4 separate regions of the Homo sapiens genome follow, and regions 2, 3 and 4 are each linked to region 1. The links are contacts of gene promoters, found by promoter capture Hi-C in blood cells and fetal thymus (Javierre and others, 2016). All regions are on one chromosome and are shown on one strand. The core of a region is centred on a gene start or on the middle of the fragment in contact, and the rest is flanking DNA. Distances in the headings are between cores, read along the strand shown. Region 1 holds the start of ADH5 (alcohol dehydrogenase 5 (class III), chi polypeptide). Region 2 overlaps RAP1GDS1 (Rap1 GTPase-GDP dissociation stimulator 1). Region 3 has its middle 190 kb from the start of RAP1GDS1. Region 4 overlaps TSPAN5 (tetraspanin 5).

Region 1 (4,182 bases), core at 796-3,295:
ATTATTGTTAAACAAGGCACTACAAAAATGCAAGTGTCTCTTTCCAGAAAATAGACAATATATCTGCAATAGGGAAAAGAAAACTCTCTGCCAAGTCTTTTTTTTTTCCCACTAGAAATTGCTTGCTGCATTCCAAGCAGAAGTATTGACATACACAAAGGCCTGGAATCAAGAAAAAGCATAGTCCCTTTAAGGAACTACGAATGTTCCTTAAATGTTGGTGTGAAATTTGGCAGGAGAGCAGGAAATAAGGATAGAGGTATATACAGAAGGAAGTAATTCAGAGCCTGAGTGGCCTAAAGAGTTTGGATTTTATCCATTTGTTCTCCCTTGAATATTTTTAAATAGAAGAATGGTATTTATTTATTTATTTATTTATTTATTTATAGCCTAACTCATTCAAAAATTATTGAAGGAAAATAGGAAATGGCATTGATTGATGTTACGTTTTGGAAAGATCACTAACAGGGCATTCCTTTTTAAGTATTAGATTCAAGGGCCTGGCATCAAAGAAATCAGATGGGAGGCTCTTTCAGTAATCCTGTAAGAAATTATGAAAGCCTGAACTAATACAGCAGCAGTGGGGAGAGAGAGGCACAAGACCAGAGAGATATTTAGGGCTTGGTGACAAACTGAATGCAGGGACCGAGGGAGAGGGAGAAGTTGTGACTCTCATGTTTCTGGCTAGGGTAAGTATGTGGAGAGTGTCAACACACAGAGGAAAGAGTCCCTATAAGGAGAAAATATTAATAGGAGTTTTAGGAGTTGCATTCGATTGTGAGATATCCTAATGGAGACAGAAATCCAGTAGGCAGTTACATGTCCAAGTCTGGAGTTTAGGGGAGCCATCCTGATTGGAGATAATAATCTGGTAGTCATCTTTCCATAAATAGACGTTAAAAGCCAAAGTGTGAGTGAGAGAGTGGAGTGAAAGGACGGAAAGACTTTGGACAATCTTACCATATGTACCCGGAAAAGAGCCAAGAAAAAGACTGAAAGACAGAAAAGAGCAGTGTGTCTGACAGAGCTATTTTAACAAAATTCAGCGTTTACAACAGAGTTTAAGAGTAAACTGGCAGGCCAGGTGCGGTGGCTCATGCCCGTAATCCCAGCACTTTGGGAGGCTGAGGTGGGTGAATCACTTGAGGTTAGGAGTTCAAGACCAGACTGGCATACATGGTGAGACCAACCCCCTGCCCCCACTCCCAATCTCTACTAAAAATACAAAATTGAGCCAGCGTGGTGGCGTGTGCCTGTGATCCCAACTACTCAGGAGGCTGAGGCACGAGAATCACTTGAACCTAGGAGGCGGAGGTTGCAGTGACCCGAGATCGCGCCACTGCACTCCAGCCTGGGCGACAGTGCGAGACTCCGTCTCAAACAAACAAAGAAAGAGTAAACCGACAAATACTACATTCTCTCTCTCTACACTCTGGCCCACTCTTAACACAAAAAACTGTCCAGGATCAGGAGACTTTTTGTTCTCCTCATCTCCTCCTTCCAAAGTTCTCTGCCCACGTTCTACTGTCTCCCCAAAATCCTACCTACCCTTCAGGAACTGCTGGAATGGGAGCTTGGGAAGTTTCAGCAAACTCCTCTCTCCTCCTTTGTGGCCCCTTTATTCCCAAAGCTGTGTCCTCTCCCTATGACGAGTCCCTTGAGGGGCTGTATCTTACTCCTTGTGTCTCCAAGCACACATAATGTGTATTAGGGGAGGAAGCATTCGCCAGTGGAGCACAAAGCTGTTGCAGGTCTCTTACTGGTTCTCAGGCGCTTTCAGTGAAATTCCCGTTCCCTCACCGTCCACATCTGTAATTTGCAAGTCTTATCTACGATAACTGCTGTAAAGTTACACGGGGAAGCCCTTTCCCGACAAAAAAAACGAGTTCTGCAACAAGTCCGTCGGATTTTAGCAATGAAACCGGCGCCGTGCAGCCTCGCCGGCGAGTGCACCCTGGAACGCACAACTTAGCGGCACGCACCACAGCTCGAGCACCGCCCTTCCGGTTGGAGCCATTGCAAGCCCCCCCCACGCCCCGCCCCCCTCGCTAGGCGCTCGCCACGCCCATGCCTCCGTCGCTGCGCGGCCCACCCCGGATGTCAGCCCCCCGCGCCGACCAGAATCCGTGAACATGGCGAACGAGGTAGGGCCCGTTGAGCGGAGGGCCCTGAGTCCAAGGGAGGGAGTGCATGGCATGGGACTAGGCTGCTATCCTCGGGGGCGCGCGAGGCTCGGCGCCCAAGACGGGATCTGGCTCTTGGTTCTGAAACTGGGCCCCCAGCGAGCGGCTCAGAGGGGCAGAAAGAGAAGGAAGCTTTGTCTCGGCTCTTCAGTTGGGAAGCAGCTTTCTTTGCTGCTTCTGGGACAGTCGGAACGGGGTGGGGGGGTGGGAGAGCCGGAGAGTGGGGGGCAGGGGCTGGTCAGGTCGGTATCCCAGTGGAAATGGCTTAGGAGCGGCCACGCATTGCTTCTTACACGAAATTAAGTAACTCGCTCTGGGTCATTCTTGCAGCTTGCATACTTGGCAGAGCTGCAGCCAGATCCCGTGCTTCTAACTCCTAGGTTGCTTGTGTTGCATAATTGAGCCTACGCCTTAATTATTGTGCCTCCAAGGAGTGTATTTTGGAAAGACCCCTACGTCCCTTTCAGAAACATTTTCGAGCACTTAAATACCAAGAGATTTATATTCCCTCTAGTCCTCACGTAACAAACACCTCTGCGAGGTGTTATCCCCATCTTACCAAAAACTGAGGTTTGAGGTTGGTTGTGCTTGGTCACACCAACGATGGCGAGCTGGGATTCCGACCCAGGTCTGCTCCTCTATGACAAATTCATAAAATACAAATTAGACAGTAAAGAAAGGCAGAAATTACGAATAACATACTCAGTCTAAAGTTGCTGATTATTTTAATGTTTTGCAATTTTGGACATTTTCTAGTAAGACAAATGGCCTTAAACATATTGGAGTTTGAAAGAAATAAACTCTAAACAGTCTTTCAGACTTAAACTGGTAGTTGCTTTTCCTTATTACTGAGTGTCTTTATTCAGAGAAGGTGAAAGATTATAATTGTTACTATAGTTCAAATGTTGAAGTAGGGCCATTTCCCGCGGATTTAGAGTGGGGCTTTGTTTTGCTTAGAATTGTCAGTAAAAGGAAAAGGTTAGGCTCCATTAAGACATTTTTTAAAGGGGAGCAGGCCATCAAATTTAGTATTCTTGTTTCTTTGGATTCCTATGTTGCATAACTTAATTGTTAGTATTCTGAATCTGACTTGTGGAGTTGAAATTTATGGCACATTGAAATGAAAAAGGTTCTAATGCAGTGTCTGATTCTTTGTACTATGAGATTTAATATCTGCAATTTAATTTTAAAAACGATCATTTCCACATTTCCAACCTCACCAATTTACAGAGGCCATTTCCCTCCCCCCCCCCTCCCCCGCCAGTTCAGACGGAGTTTCGCTCTTTGTTTCCCAGGCTGGAGTGCGATAGCGCGATCTTGGGTCACTGCAACCTTTGCCTCCCGGGTTCAAGCGATTCTCCTGTCTCAGCCTCCCGAGTAGCTGGGATTACCGGCGCCCGTCACCATGCTCGGTATTTTTGTATTTTTAGTAGAGACGGGGTTTCGCCATAGTGGCCAGGCTGGTCTCCAACTCCTGACCTCAGGTGATCCGCCCATCTCGGCCTCCCAAAGTGCTGGGATTACAGGCGTGAGCCCCTGCACCCGGCCTACAGAGGCCATTTTTTATATCTCTATGTAGTTCACCTCTCCTTTCCCTCAACCGTTTGTTCTGTTGCTACCAATAACTACTAACTTATTTTGCAAAGCTATGCTGTGCCAAGGATTGTGTTAGGGACTTCATATTCTTTTTTTTTTTTTTTTTTTTTTTTTGAGACGCAGTCTTGCTCTGTCACCCAGGCTGGAGTGCAGTGGCGCGATCTCGGCTCACTACAAGCTCCGCCTCCTGGGTTCACGCCGTTCTCCTGCCTCAGCCTCCCCGGTAGCTGTGACTACAGGCGACTGCCACCTCCCCTGGCTAATTTTTTGTATTTTTAGTAGAGACGGGGTTTCACCTAGCCAGGATGGTCTCGATCTCCTGACCTCGTGATCCGCCCGCCTCGGCCTCCCAAAGTGCTGGGATTACAGGCTTGAGCCACCGCGCCCGGCCAGGGACTTCATA
Region 2 (4,182 bases), core at 1,114-3,613, 650 kb after region 1:
TCAGAACCTGTGCCTGCTATAAAATAACATTTTAGGGTTCATGAGACTTACTGATTTTGCAATACTGAATGTTGTCTAGATTTGCTATATGATACTTTCTATTGTAGTGAGAATCTTTTGGGAATGTCTTCAGTGAAAAGTAATTCTATCTATTATACAGTTGGATGGCTAGAAAATACCAATGTAGTGTATATTTCAAGACAGCTAGAAGAGAAGATTTTCAATGTCATCACCATGAAGAAATGAGTGTTTACAGTAATAGGGGAAAAAAGTTATCTTATAACCTCCATAAACTAATTTCTAACGGCTTTAAAACCCAAAACCATCATTTACTATTACTCTATATTTAATATTTAATGTGAACCATATGTTTATGGACATCAAATGATAGAAGAATACTTACCAGATCCCATAAGAGCACATATCAGGACCATGGAATTATATTTGATTTCAGGAGCACTTCTCTCATCTGCTAGCAGTCTATGTAAAATCTGTACAAGTTTAGCACTTTCTAGATCTTTCTCAGCAGTGCCTACAAATAAAACAAAGTATATCTACTGCGTACGAACCCAGTATCCTCAGGATAAACACTGCTTCATTTTGAAGAAATTGACCATACGAAACCTTCTAAATGGAACTGATAAATAATAATGACCTAGAAAAATAATATTAAATTCAGACCATGTGAAAAGAGTAAATAGAATTAGATTTTAGTAGACACTTCAGGTGTTTAAGCTTACTATTTAATACTAACACATTTCTTTTAATATGAGACAATTAAACTTTTTATTATGGAAAATGTTAAACATATGCAAAATCAGAAAAGATGGTATAATAATATACCTTATGCACTTATCACCTTAAAGAATTATGGCCGATCTCTCTCATTCACCTGCTGTCATCCATCTCAAATTATTTTGGAGCAAATCCTATAAATCACATAATTCCCTCCACAAATAAAAGATAAGGACTCAGTGGAATTTCAATCAAAATCCTAGCAAGATTTTCTGTAGAAAATATACAAGCTTATACTAAAACTTACATGGAAAGCCACAGGCCCTAAAATAGCTAAAACCATCTTGATAAAGAAGAATAAAGTGTGAGGAATTCCTCCATCCAGTATTAAGGCTTACTCTATAGCTACAGTAATCAAGATAGCATATTACTGGTGGCAACATAGGCACTTATGTCAAAGGCACTGAATGGAAGACCCAGAAATAGACTCACACATATATGCTCAACTGACTTTTGACAATGGTACAAAATCAGTGCAGTGGAGGAAAGACAGCTTTTCAACGAAAGGTGCTAGTACAATTAGACATCCATGGGACAAAGAAAATGAACCCTAACCTAAACCTCGTACCTTATACCGATATATATATATATATATATTTTTTTTTTGAGACAGCGTCTGGCTCTGTCGCCCAGGCTGGAGTGCAGTGGCGCGATCTCGGCTCACTGCAAGCTCCGCCTCCTGGGTTCACGCCATTCTCCTGCCTCAGCCTCTCAAGTAGCTGGGACTACAGGAGCCCGCCACCGCTCCCGGCTAATTTTTTGTATTTTTAGTAGAGACGGGGTTTCACTGTGTTAGCCAGGATGGTCTCGATCTCCTGACCTCATGATCCACCCGCCTCGGCCTCCCAAAGTGCTGGGATTACAGGCGTGACTTATACCGATATTAACTCAAAATGGATTACAGACTTAAATGTAAAATATAGAACTACAAAATTTTTAGAATATATAAAGAACTCTCAAAACTCAACAGTCAAAAAAAAAATGGTTAAAAGACAAAAATCAGCATTTCACCAAAGAATATACAGTTGACCCTTGAACAACGTAAGTTTGAACTGTGTGGGTCCAATTATACCTGGATTTTCTTCTCTTCTGCCATCCCTGAGAGAGCAAGCCTAAGCCCCTTCTGTTCTTCCCCTTCCTCAGCCTACTCAGTGTGAAGACAAGGATTCAAGACCTTCTTGATAATCCACTTCTACTTAATAAATAGTAAATATATTTTCTCTTCCCTACAATTTTCTTAACATTTTCTTTTCTCTGGCTTTATTATAAGAATATAGTATATAATTCATATACAAAATATATGTTCACTGACTGTTATTGGTAAGGCTTCCAGTCACCAACAGACCATTCAAGGAGACAGATATCCTATACACCTTGACTTGATCATTACACACTATGCACATAAAAAAATACTCACATGAGTGTTTCCTCTTCCTGGAACTGGGGTTGGAGGGTCCATTCGCCCCAGTGTGAGAATTATGGATCTAAGTTGTCAGTGGGAATTAAGAGGCTATCAGTTAACAGTATTTACCCAAATGGCTTTGAATTGGATAGGACATCCCTACTAAGTGTAAAGTCCTCCTTTGTGTTAAGCAGCCTTAGGCCTTAACCACAGGCCACGTGACTCTATTACACCATCCCTGGCTGACTGTCTTGGGTTGGCTCCAAAGCCATCCAGCTTATGCTATTCATAAACTAGATGTCTACGGATTAGCTTCTCGTGATGAATTCTGCCCAACAGAAATGCTATATTAGGGCCGGGCATGGTGGATCACGCCTGTAATCCCAGCGCTTTGGGAGGGCTGAGGTGGGTGGATCACTTGAGGTCAGGAGTTCAAGACCAGCCTGACCAACATGGTGAAACCCTGTCTCTACAAAACATACAAAAATTAGTCAGGCACAGTGGCATGCACCTGTAATCCCAGCTACTCAGGAGGCTGAGGCACGAGAATTGCTTGAACCCAGGACGCGGACGTTGCAGTGAGCTGAGATTGCGCCACTGCACTCTAGCCTCCTGGGTGACAAAGCAAGACTGTTTCAAAAAAAAAAAAAAAAAAGCTATGTTAAACTGAAACTAATGAAATTATTTAGCCTATTTAGCCTCTGCTTTGGGGGAGTTCTGAATGCAAAACACACAGAAGGGTAACACAGAAGACAAGACATTAGAGTAAGGCAATAGAAGTCACGGTGATGGAGAAGGAGAACAGCAAGAAAGAATCGGTAGTAGAGAGAACCAGCAGAGATGGAAGAGAAAGTATGGGTCACTGGGAGAGTAGCAGACTCTTCATATGCTGTCATATTCTAAATATTGTTTGGTTTCTCTGTGAAGCCTGCTGAAAACGTTTTCTCTATTCTCTAAGTGGCTGTAACTTGAGACATTATTTAAAAGTTAAACTTACCTTAATGCATTGCCCTAAAAATGTTACCAAAAACACAGCCAAAGGGGACAGCTGTAACAATCTATATAGAATGATTTTCCATAGATTCAGAGAACGGTACAGACACTAGCAAAATGCTTCCAGTCAAGGTTCTGTCTGACTTCAACTCCACTTCTATACTTCCTTTCATCCAAGATAAAAATAGAAGAAAATAAGTTTGTCACTGGGGTACTTACCCAATTCTAAAGCTGCTATTAATGCCAAAGCAACAAGAGCTTCATTCTGCATTATTACATGTTCACTAGTTGCCATGGTAACTAGATGCTTGATGCCACCACTCTGCACAATGGTTTTAATTACATCCTACAATAAATAATATCAGAGAATTATAGACTTTAATTTTAAACATAAGGAACATGCATTAAAATCAGTCAACTCATTGTTGAGTGGTTTTGCGACAGTGTCCTGTATGAATCATTTGATTTAATCATAGTTTTTTTCTCCACAGAAGAAAAGGAAAAAGCTTTTAGCTTTAAATACATTCATCAAAAGATGACAACTTAAATTGCCTAAGTAGAAAAGACCACTGCAGTTCATATTAAAAAACAGAAGGCTTAGAAGCTACCAAAGCCAAAGAAGTAAAAATGTCACTGCCTTAAATGTTGACCTACCTTAGGATTGACAAACAAGAATAAAACTTGGAATTTAAAAAAGTTCTCAGCTGGGCACGGTGGCTCAGGACGTTAATCCCAGTGCTCTGACAGGCCAAAACAGGAGGATCGCTTGAGACCAGCCTGGCAACATAGCGAGACCCCATCTCTACAAAAAATAAAAAAATTAGCCAGTCATGGTGGCACACATCTGCAGTCCCAGCTACTCAGGGTGCTGAGGTGGGAGACTGCTTGAGCCAGGGAGCTCAAGGCTGCAGTGAACTATGATCACACCACTGCACTCCAGCCTGGGTGACAGAGTGAGAACCTGCCTCTTAAAAAAAAAAAAGTTGCTTTTA
Region 3 (4,182 bases), core at 523-3,022, 640 kb after region 1:
GACTGAGGTGGGCGGATCATGAGGTCAGGAGATCAAGACCATCCTGGCTAACATGGTGAAACCCCGTCTGTACCAAAAATACAAAATATTAGCTGGGTGTGGTGGTGGGTGCCTGTAGTCCCAGCTACTGGGGAGGCTGAGGCAGGAGAATGGTGTGAACCTGGGAGGCAGAGCTTGCAGTGAGCCAAGTTCATGCCACTGCACTCCAGCCTGGGTGACAGAGCGAGACTCCGTCTCAAAAAAAAAAAAAAAATTCTTTGAACTCAATGATAACAGTGACACAACCTATCAAAATCTCTGGGATACAGCAAAGGTGGTGGGTGATAAGAGGAAAGTTCATAGCATTAAATGCCTATGTCAAAAAATCTGAAAGAACACAAATAGAAAATCTAAGGTCACATGTCAAGGAGCTACAGAAACAAGAACAAACCAAACCCCAACTCAGCAGAAGAAAGGAAATAACAAAGAGCGGAACTAAATGAAATTGAAACAAACAAACAAAAAAATACAAAAGGTAAATGAAACAAAAAGCTGATTCTTTGAAAAGATGAATAAAGTTGATAGCCCATTAGTGAAATTAACCATGAAGAGAGAAGATCCAAATAAGCTCAATTAGAAATGAAATGGGAGATGTTATAATCCATACCACAGAAATACAAAAGATAATTCAAGACTACTAAGAACACCTTTATGCACATAAACTAGAAAACCTAAAGGAGATGGGTAAATTCCTGGAAATATACAACTCACCTAGATTAAACCAGGAAGAAATAAAAACTCTGAACAGACCAATAGCAAGCAGCGATAAATGGTAATAAAAAGTTACCAAGAAAAAAAAAAAAGTCCAGGACCATACAGGTTCATAGCTGAATTCTATTAGACATTCAAAGATTTGGTACCAATACTATTGACACTATTCCAAAACACAGAGAAAGAGGGAATCCTCCCTAGGTCATTCTGTGAAGCCAGTATCACCCCAATACCAAAACCAGGAAAGGACATAACAAAAAAGGAAACTACAGACCAATATCCCTGATAAACGTAGATGTAAAAATCCTCAAGAAAATACTAGCTAACCAAATTCAACAGCATATCAGAAAGATAATCCAACATGATCAAGTGGTTTTCATACCAGGGATGTATTCTGCATCCCTGCATACTTAACATATGCAAGTCAAAAAGTGTGATACACCACATAAACAGAATTAAAAACAAAAATCACATGATCATCTCAATAGATGCAGAAGAAGCATTTGACAAAATCCAGCATCCTTTATGATTAAAACCCTCAGCAAAATTGGCATAGAAGGGAAATACCTTAAGGTAATAAAAGCCATCCTGACAAACCCACAGTCAACATTATACTGAATGGGAAGAAGTTGAAAGCATTCCCCCTGAGAACTGGGACAAGACAAGGATGCCTACTTCCAGTACTTCTATTCAACATAGTGCTAGAAATCCTAGCCAGAGCAATTAGGCAAGAGAAAGAAATAAAGGGCATCCAAATTGGTAAAGAGGAAGCCACACTGTTGCTGTTTGCTGGTGACATGATCATATGGAGAGAAAAGCCTTTTCAAGATAGGAGGAAGTCATGCCAGCACATGGAAGGGCTATGAGGTACACATGGGCACTTGGAAAGCTAAGGAGAAAGGCTATGAGCTAACCAAGCACACGACCATCCCCTCTGCCTTCTCTAAGAGCTCAAAGTCTCAGACTATCAGCAAAAGACTTTGGATGTCTGAGAGAACATGCTTTTCATAAGGATGATGGGGGTAGGGGATGGTTGTGTCCGGGGCTATGCCCCATATGCTGGGCATGAGGGTATCCTGATGATTAATCCAGAGGATGTGTCAGGCAGGATTCCAGAAAGTTTAGGGGAGCAGAAAAATCTCTGAACCATCCTGGGATATAATGTCTCCTTTACAGCAACATCTGGGAGCTGGGTGGCTCAGGATATCTGATCTCTTTAAGTATGGTGCTTTACTTGGCAAGTGATTATTAGTCTCTGAGTCAGAACTCAGTGGCCTCAAAAAGGATGGACGTTGAACAAAAATCCTGGGGTATCAATTCAGGAAATGGCTACCTACTTGACCAAACAAGGTGAGGACTCTTGTTGGCCAGGCCACACTCTGAGGACTTTAAGCAAAGTATCATTTCATTGCCCTTGGTTCTAGCTGGCGTTTTTCTACTCTGGCTGCAGATCAGAATCACCTTTGGAGCTTTAAAAAAATTCAGATACCCAGGCCCCAGTTCCAGGGATTTGATTCCCTAAGTGTTGGGAAAAGCACACTTTTTTTTTTTTTTAGACAGGGTCTTGCTCTGTCACCCAGTCTGGAGTACAGTGGCATGACCACGGCTCACTGCAACCTCTGCCTTTCAGGCTCAAACAATCCTCCCACCTCAACCTTTCATATAGCTGCGACTACAGGCACACACCACCATGTCTGACTAATTTAAGCAAACTTTTTAAAAAAATGGATCTATTGTTGGTGTTTCCTGGGGACCCTGAGGCAACACAATGATGTGTGAGTTTAGGAAGTGCCAAAGGGAGCACTGAGGCCTGCGGGGCTCAGTTTGTTTATGGAGCAACCCCTGTACTCATGGCTCAGCTGGAATAAGAACGTGTCCACTTGCCTATCTCCTCCTCAAGATCCTCTAGGCATCTCCAACCAAATGTGTCAAAGCCAACTCATTTTACAGGAACCCACTTTCCTTTCTGTGTTCCTCCTTTTAGTTAACATCACCACCATCTTCTGCCCAGTCACCCAACTCAGATACTTCAGAATGATCTTCTTTTCCAATCTCTAGCTCCATAAAAGTATCCCAGACCCTTCCTCTCTAAAAATCCTAGTTTAGGCATCAACAATTGTGAAGTGTTTGAGATTTTACCCTCCTTGCAAGCTAACAAGTTAGCCTGCCACAGGTACATAGATGCTGAGAGAAGGCCTGAGACTCCTGGGTCAGACTGAAAGGACTTTATTATGCATGCACCCCTGGTAAAATGAATCTCATGTTTGCAGTAGTTTCTCTTGCTTCCCAAGTCCGACAGGGAACAGTGGCCCAGATGGATACTTCACACACAGCAGGTTTATGCCCCAGCGAAGGAACTGAGTTTAGGAAACCCCAGTCTCATAAAGGGGCCTGCAAGTGATCCTGACCAAACTTTGCCCCCGAGGGAGACCTTATCTTGATTTCTGTACAGTAAAAATAAATCTGCCTGTCCCAGGGAGACACTGTCTCTATCTTACAAGGCTATTTGGCATATAAAGATCCTTGAAAAGGTAGTTAAAAAGAAAAAGCTGAAGCTGTCTTTCACAGAGGTATGGAAATACAAGATACCCATCGAGAATTGTCTCTCAACATCAGGAATTCATCACAATTACCTATTAATTTCCTTTCTGCTAGCCTGCCCCACCCCCATTAGCAATAATTCTGATTCTAGAACAAAACATAAAGCAAATATACCCATCTTTTATGTAGAAACCTTGGTTTTTCCGTTATATAATACAAAGTTAAAATGGCTAATGTCTACTCCCTGCTCCTGCCATCTCTTCTGCTCTATTTTCCTAGCCTTTTCTTTTGCTCCCACCCTTCCTTCCTATGTACCCTCTGCCCCAAGATGCCCAGAGCACCCAGAGTCACCTCTACAGAACCCCATAACTCTGTTCATGCCTTGGTTAAAGCCCTTACTTGTTTGCTCAATAATCAGGTTCATGTTTATCTTCTTCCAACACAGTGCCTGACATAGTAAGTGTTTAGTAAATCTTTGGGTAGTGAGGAAGGCTGTTGAGTTAGAGAGTCAGGCTTTTTGGTGTATTTTTGAACTTTGAGGGTTAAAACTGGTAGCCCCAGTTGTTTAAATCCTTTGGATTCTGTTGTCATGAGGTCTGTGGCCATGGCCTTTAAGCAGAACAAATTGTCCTAGGGGAGATTTTGATACATTAACGACTAGCTTCATGAATCAAGATTTCATTCCATTTGAAATAATGGAAAACCCTGCCTGAGGGATTTCAACGTCAGGTGTGTGTCTCCTGCCATCAGCATGAGGGTTCTCAGCATAGGGCCGCTACTCCAGCTTATTGATGCTCCTGTGGACCCAGGCTCTTTGTACCTTTCTGTTCCACTGTCCTTAAGGTACAGGCCTTCATCCTCAGGTTTCTACCTAATCGTTGCTGAAGGGCT
Region 4 (4,182 bases), core at 669-3,168, 610 kb after region 1:
CTGACTGCACGTCCATTCATAGGCTCTCTGCAGGGGGAAGCACATCACGCACTGTTGGCTCATTCTGGCAGTCCAACCTGGCATTGTCTTTACACAATCCTGCATGCAATTTTGTATTTCCAGTAATCAGGAGCATTTCATCTTTTATTCCATAGCAATAGTTTCAGGGGGTCTCCCTGCGCTCCATAAAACAAAACAGATCTTTAAAAAAACTATTAGAATGTAGAGATCAAAACTTTGAAAAAGTAAGCTATAGTTAGCCCACCCATAACCCCAGTTGCCTCCTTCAGTCACTACCACTGTCGTTAGTGTCTTATTTACCCTTCTAGAATGTTCTTGTTTCTCCTTCTAGAATGACGTGCCCAAGCCAAACAGATCTTGTTCTAACTGAGCCCTGCTGTACAGCTGCTCTGCCCTTCTTCCACCTAACACCACAGGTCTCATCAGTTGTTTAAATCACGTGCCAACACATCCCTACAAACCTTCAGCCCTAATTAATTTGGAAGATTTTATATGGGCCATTTAGGTTCAGTTTGGCTTAAAAATAAAGTCTAGGACAGAAAAGAAGGTCAGAGCTGGCAGAAGCTGGTGTCGTTCGGCGGGTGTGAGTGTAGGTGACTGCTTGCCTCCAAGTTGGGATGTTCTAATTCTTTCCTGTTTGCTCTAGTGGCAGTGCTGTGGGGCTTTTGGAGCTGATGATTGGAACCTAAATATTTACTTCAATTGCACAGATTCCAATGCAAGTCGAGAGCGATGTGGCGTTCCATTCTCCTGCTGCACTAAAGATCCCGCAGTAAGTGAATGCCAGCGAACTATTGGCCTACTCTGTACATCATGCCGAGAGTGTGCATGGGACGAGCAGAGTGATTTTTTGGTTGAACCCTCTTCTTACCTGGTTACTCGTATTTGTAGCTCCTGTAGGGGGTTATGGTGCTCAAATCTTCCTAGTAGGAGTAATAATTGCTGGCATTAATTTAGCAGTGTGTGCTGGTTCCTATTCTAAGCCTTTATGTGTGTTGGCTCATTTAAGTTGGGCACATTCCTACTGGCAGATACCACCATTACCCTCCCTTTTCAGGGGAAGAAATCAAGGCACATGAGGTGTAAGTGACTTTCCCAAGCTTGCACTGCTAGCAGGCAATGGAGTGGAATATGAGACCCAGGCAACTTGCCTGTATCATCTGTTAGCCTTTCTTCATGAGAAGGGCAGGCTCATATGAGAGCTCTCTGCATTGGTTTGGGGTTAGTAACCCTTTTCTTTTTGGCTTAGTTCTAGGGGAACTATTAGGAGTAGGAGGAGAGTTTGAGACAAGATAGGCCTGGACTGCTGTGTAGGAAGACCACAGCTGCCCAGACTCCTGAATGTCATCATGACTATAGTCATGCAGTTTGCATTTTATTATAAAAAAGAATAAAATATAAAATCTATTTGTAAGTCACTCACTTTTGCCACAGGTTTGATTATATTTTGTGTCAAATCGTGCCTGGTATATAGAATGACTTAAAATGCAATTCTTAAGCCAGGCATAGTAGTTCACACCTGTAATCCCAGCACTTTGGCAGGCTGAGGTGGGAGGATCCCTTGAGCCCAGGAGTTAAAGACCAGCCTGAGCAACATAGTGAGACCCCATCTCTACAAAAAAATTAAAAAATTAGCCATGTGTGGTGGCACACACCCGTGGTCCCATCTACTCTGGAGGCTGAAACAGGATCACTTGAGCCCAGGAGTTTGAGGCTGCAGTGAGCCATGATCATGCCACTGCCCTCCATCCTGGTGACAGAGTGAGACCACAATTCTTAAAAAAAAAAAAAAAAGGTAACTCTCTAGTGTTAGAATGACAAACATGAGAGGTTACTCCACGCATCTCTGTGTGCTCCTAGCTGCAGAACCCTTCTGGGACTCCTCAACTGTTCTCTGGCCCTGCAGTCTCCAGATGTACTCCCCAAGGCTCGCCCTTACCCCTCAGAAGCAGAGCCGAGTGGGTGCTGATGAGCTCAGTGGGGATGCTCCTTCTTATGGTGGAGGCTGTGGGGCTCTTAAAAGGAGCTATGGTCTTGGAGTGGAAAAGCAGAACTTCCCTGTGGGCTTCCTCCAGGGGACCACCTCAGCTGTTTCTCTTGGTCTGAAAGAGGAGACAAAGTCACTAAGGACTGTGCTGCCCCGCCAGCTGCCCTTCCCACCAGCTCAAACCTCCTCTCCCTTCTGAGGAGAGCCACATGGCAGCAGAGTGCCCACTCAGAGCTTGAGGGGCTCATCCTGGTGGCCTTGCACTGGCCAGCGGGTGCCGCACAGTGCGCCTCCTGTCGCCAGTTCCTGTCCCACATTAACACTCCCTTGGGAGAATTCTGTATTCTCAGAGGCATTAATGCTTCCCCTTTCACCTACAGATCCTCTGGGCAGAGCTAGCTCATTCCTTGCGCTCTAAGCTAATAAAATCTGCCCCACACCCCGCAGAGAAGGAAAATAAACAACCCGAAAAAGTGGAACCATGTTTCTGATCAGACCCTGTGAGACGTCAGGTTGTCTGTGTGATTATGTGGTCGGGGCATTGTTTTGTTTTTTAATTATTAAAAGCTCATTGAAAAACAATTTAAGTAACATGGAAGTACATAGATTAAAAAGTAGCAGTCCATCCAAAAGAGCATACATGAAGATTCACTGTGCCCTTTATGTTTTTTATCTGTGTCTCCAGTTCCCTAAATCCCATAAGCTTCTTGAGGTTGGCACCACTTTGAATCTTGAGCCTCCTGTGTGATAGACTTGCTGTCTTTTCTGATATTCCCCAAGCCTTAGTTTTCCTTATTTGTAAAATAGGGCATATTTTAATACCTACTTCTGAAGATTGTCGCAATAATGACATGGGATCATGTATATAAAGTGTTTAACATAGTGCTGCAGTCTTTGTGCCCAGATACACATTTTATTACTAATGCGTAACAGAAGTCTTCTGCTCATTTCTAGGTGGGCTTTCTGTCTAATGAGTAAATTTCACTTTTCTCTTTCCTTTCTTCACCAGGAAGATGTCATCAACACTCAGTGTGGCTATGATGCCAGGCAAAAACCAGTAAGTGGAATCTCATGTTGTTGCTTAGCACGAAGGGTGTTGGAGGAGCTTTGGCCTGTGCCTGGTGCTCTATCTGTGACAATGTGCTCTCCTCTTCTCTTGTGAAGGAAGTTGACCAGCAGATTGTAATCTACACGAAAGGCTGTGTGCCCCAGTTTGAGAAGTGGTTGCAGGACAATTTAACCATCGTTGCTGGTATTTTCATAGGCATTGCATTGCTGCAGGTAAGATAAGGGTCCTTTATGGATATCACAGGGAAATAATGCCCTGGGAGAGCCCTTGCCAGGATCGGAGCTTTGCTTAAAAACCTTGATTGTCATAGTTTTTAAGACACATTGGAGGGCTGAGGAACAGACCTAAACGATTTGGTTTGTGTTTTATTTTATTCATTTATTTATTTATTTTATTTATTAATTTTTTTTTGAGATGGAGTCTTGCTCTGTCGCCCAGGCTAGAGTGCAGTGGCATGATCTTGGCTCACTGAAAGCTCCGCCTCTTGGGTTCATGCCATTCTCCTGCCTCAGCCTCCCGAGTAGCTGGGACTACAGGTGCCCGCCACTACGCCCGGCTAATTTTTTTGTATTTTTAATAGAGACGGGGTTTCACCGTGTTAGCTAGGATGGTCTCGATCTCCTGACCTCGTGATCCGCCCATCTCGGCCTCCCAAAGTGCTGGGATTACAGGAGTGATCCACCGTGCCTGGCCTGATTTGTGTTTTATTAAAGCTCTGAGTTTAGATGCTACTATCATGAAATACTTTAGGAAACCTTGTCTTTTTCTAAGATGGAGACATTAATTAGATAGTGGTTGCCTACTGGCATTCCATCGTTTACATGGGCTCAAAAATACTGCATTGTGGCAACTGAGTCAAACATGCATAGTTAGAAGTAGATCTCAGTGGTGACGTTAAGGTTTTGGGAAGTTTCACAGAGATGTCATACCCCTTTCTCTCCCTAAACTACCTTGCCAAAGTGCTAGTGAAGGAAGGGAGCACCCACTTTTCCTCCTGGCCAGTCTTAAGAGCTGGACTCTTCATGTTGTTGGTGTGATACTTTCCAAAGAGCACATAGTTGAAACAAATTAAAGAAGACCTAAGTAAATATAAAGATATCCTGTG

What was found. The method cuts DNA at HindIII sites, captures the fragments that hold promoters and counts their contacts. A CHiCAGO score of 5 or more calls a contact.
Region 2: a fragment that was not itself captured here is called in contact with the fragment with the promoter of ADH5 in region 1 in 2 of 17 cell types (activated CD4 T cells and M2 macrophages); the score reaches 5.5 in activated CD4 T cells.
Region 3: a contact is called between a fragment that was not itself captured here and the fragment with the promoter of ADH5 in region 1, in 2 of 17 cell types (non-activated CD4 T cells and naive B cells). The highest score is 5.3, in non-activated CD4 T cells.
Region 4: a contact is called between a fragment that was not itself captured here and the fragment with the promoter of ADH5 in region 1, in 1 of 17 cell types (M0 macrophages). The highest score is 6.6, in M0 macrophages.

Annotation. Positions count from the first base shown.
Region 1 is chr4:99,086,651-99,090,832 of GRCh38, reverse strand. It overlaps ADH5 (alcohol dehydrogenase 5 (class III), chi polypeptide), which reads left to right and starts at 2,045. Exons shown (of 9, transcript NM_000671.4): 1 at 2,045-2,144. The coding sequence starts at 2,133. LOC100507053 (a long non-coding RNA gene) reads right to left here and starts at 1,976. Exons shown (of 10, transcript NR_037884.1): 1 at 1,549-1,976. RefSeq lists a silencer at 2,013-2,062 and a promoter at 847-2,100. The HindIII fragment of the contact is 7,789 bases long and covers 1-2,317 here.
Region 2 is chr4:98,433,290-98,437,471 of GRCh38, reverse strand. RAP1GDS1 (Rap1 GTPase-GDP dissociation stimulator 1) reads right to left here. Exons shown (of 15, transcript NM_001100427.2): 13 at 3,410-3,536; 14 at 404-532. Among named protein-coding and RNA genes, the nearest start is that of RAP1GDS1, 170 kb to the right of the region's middle. The HindIII fragment of the contact is 2,671 bases long and covers 1,028-3,698 here.
Region 3 is chr4:98,450,095-98,454,276 of GRCh38, reverse strand. No RefSeq gene overlaps it. Among named protein-coding and RNA genes, the nearest start is that of RAP1GDS1, 190 kb to the right of the region's middle. The HindIII fragment of the contact is 5,158 bases long and covers 1-4,182 here.
Region 4 is chr4:98,475,296-98,479,477 of GRCh38, reverse strand. TSPAN5 (tetraspanin 5) reads left to right here. Exons shown (of 8, transcript NM_005723.4): 5 at 668-793; 6 at 3,018-3,065; 7 at 3,173-3,289. Among named protein-coding and RNA genes, the nearest start is that of TSPAN5, 180 kb to the left of the region's middle. The HindIII fragment of the contact is 1,590 bases long and covers 1,124-2,713 here.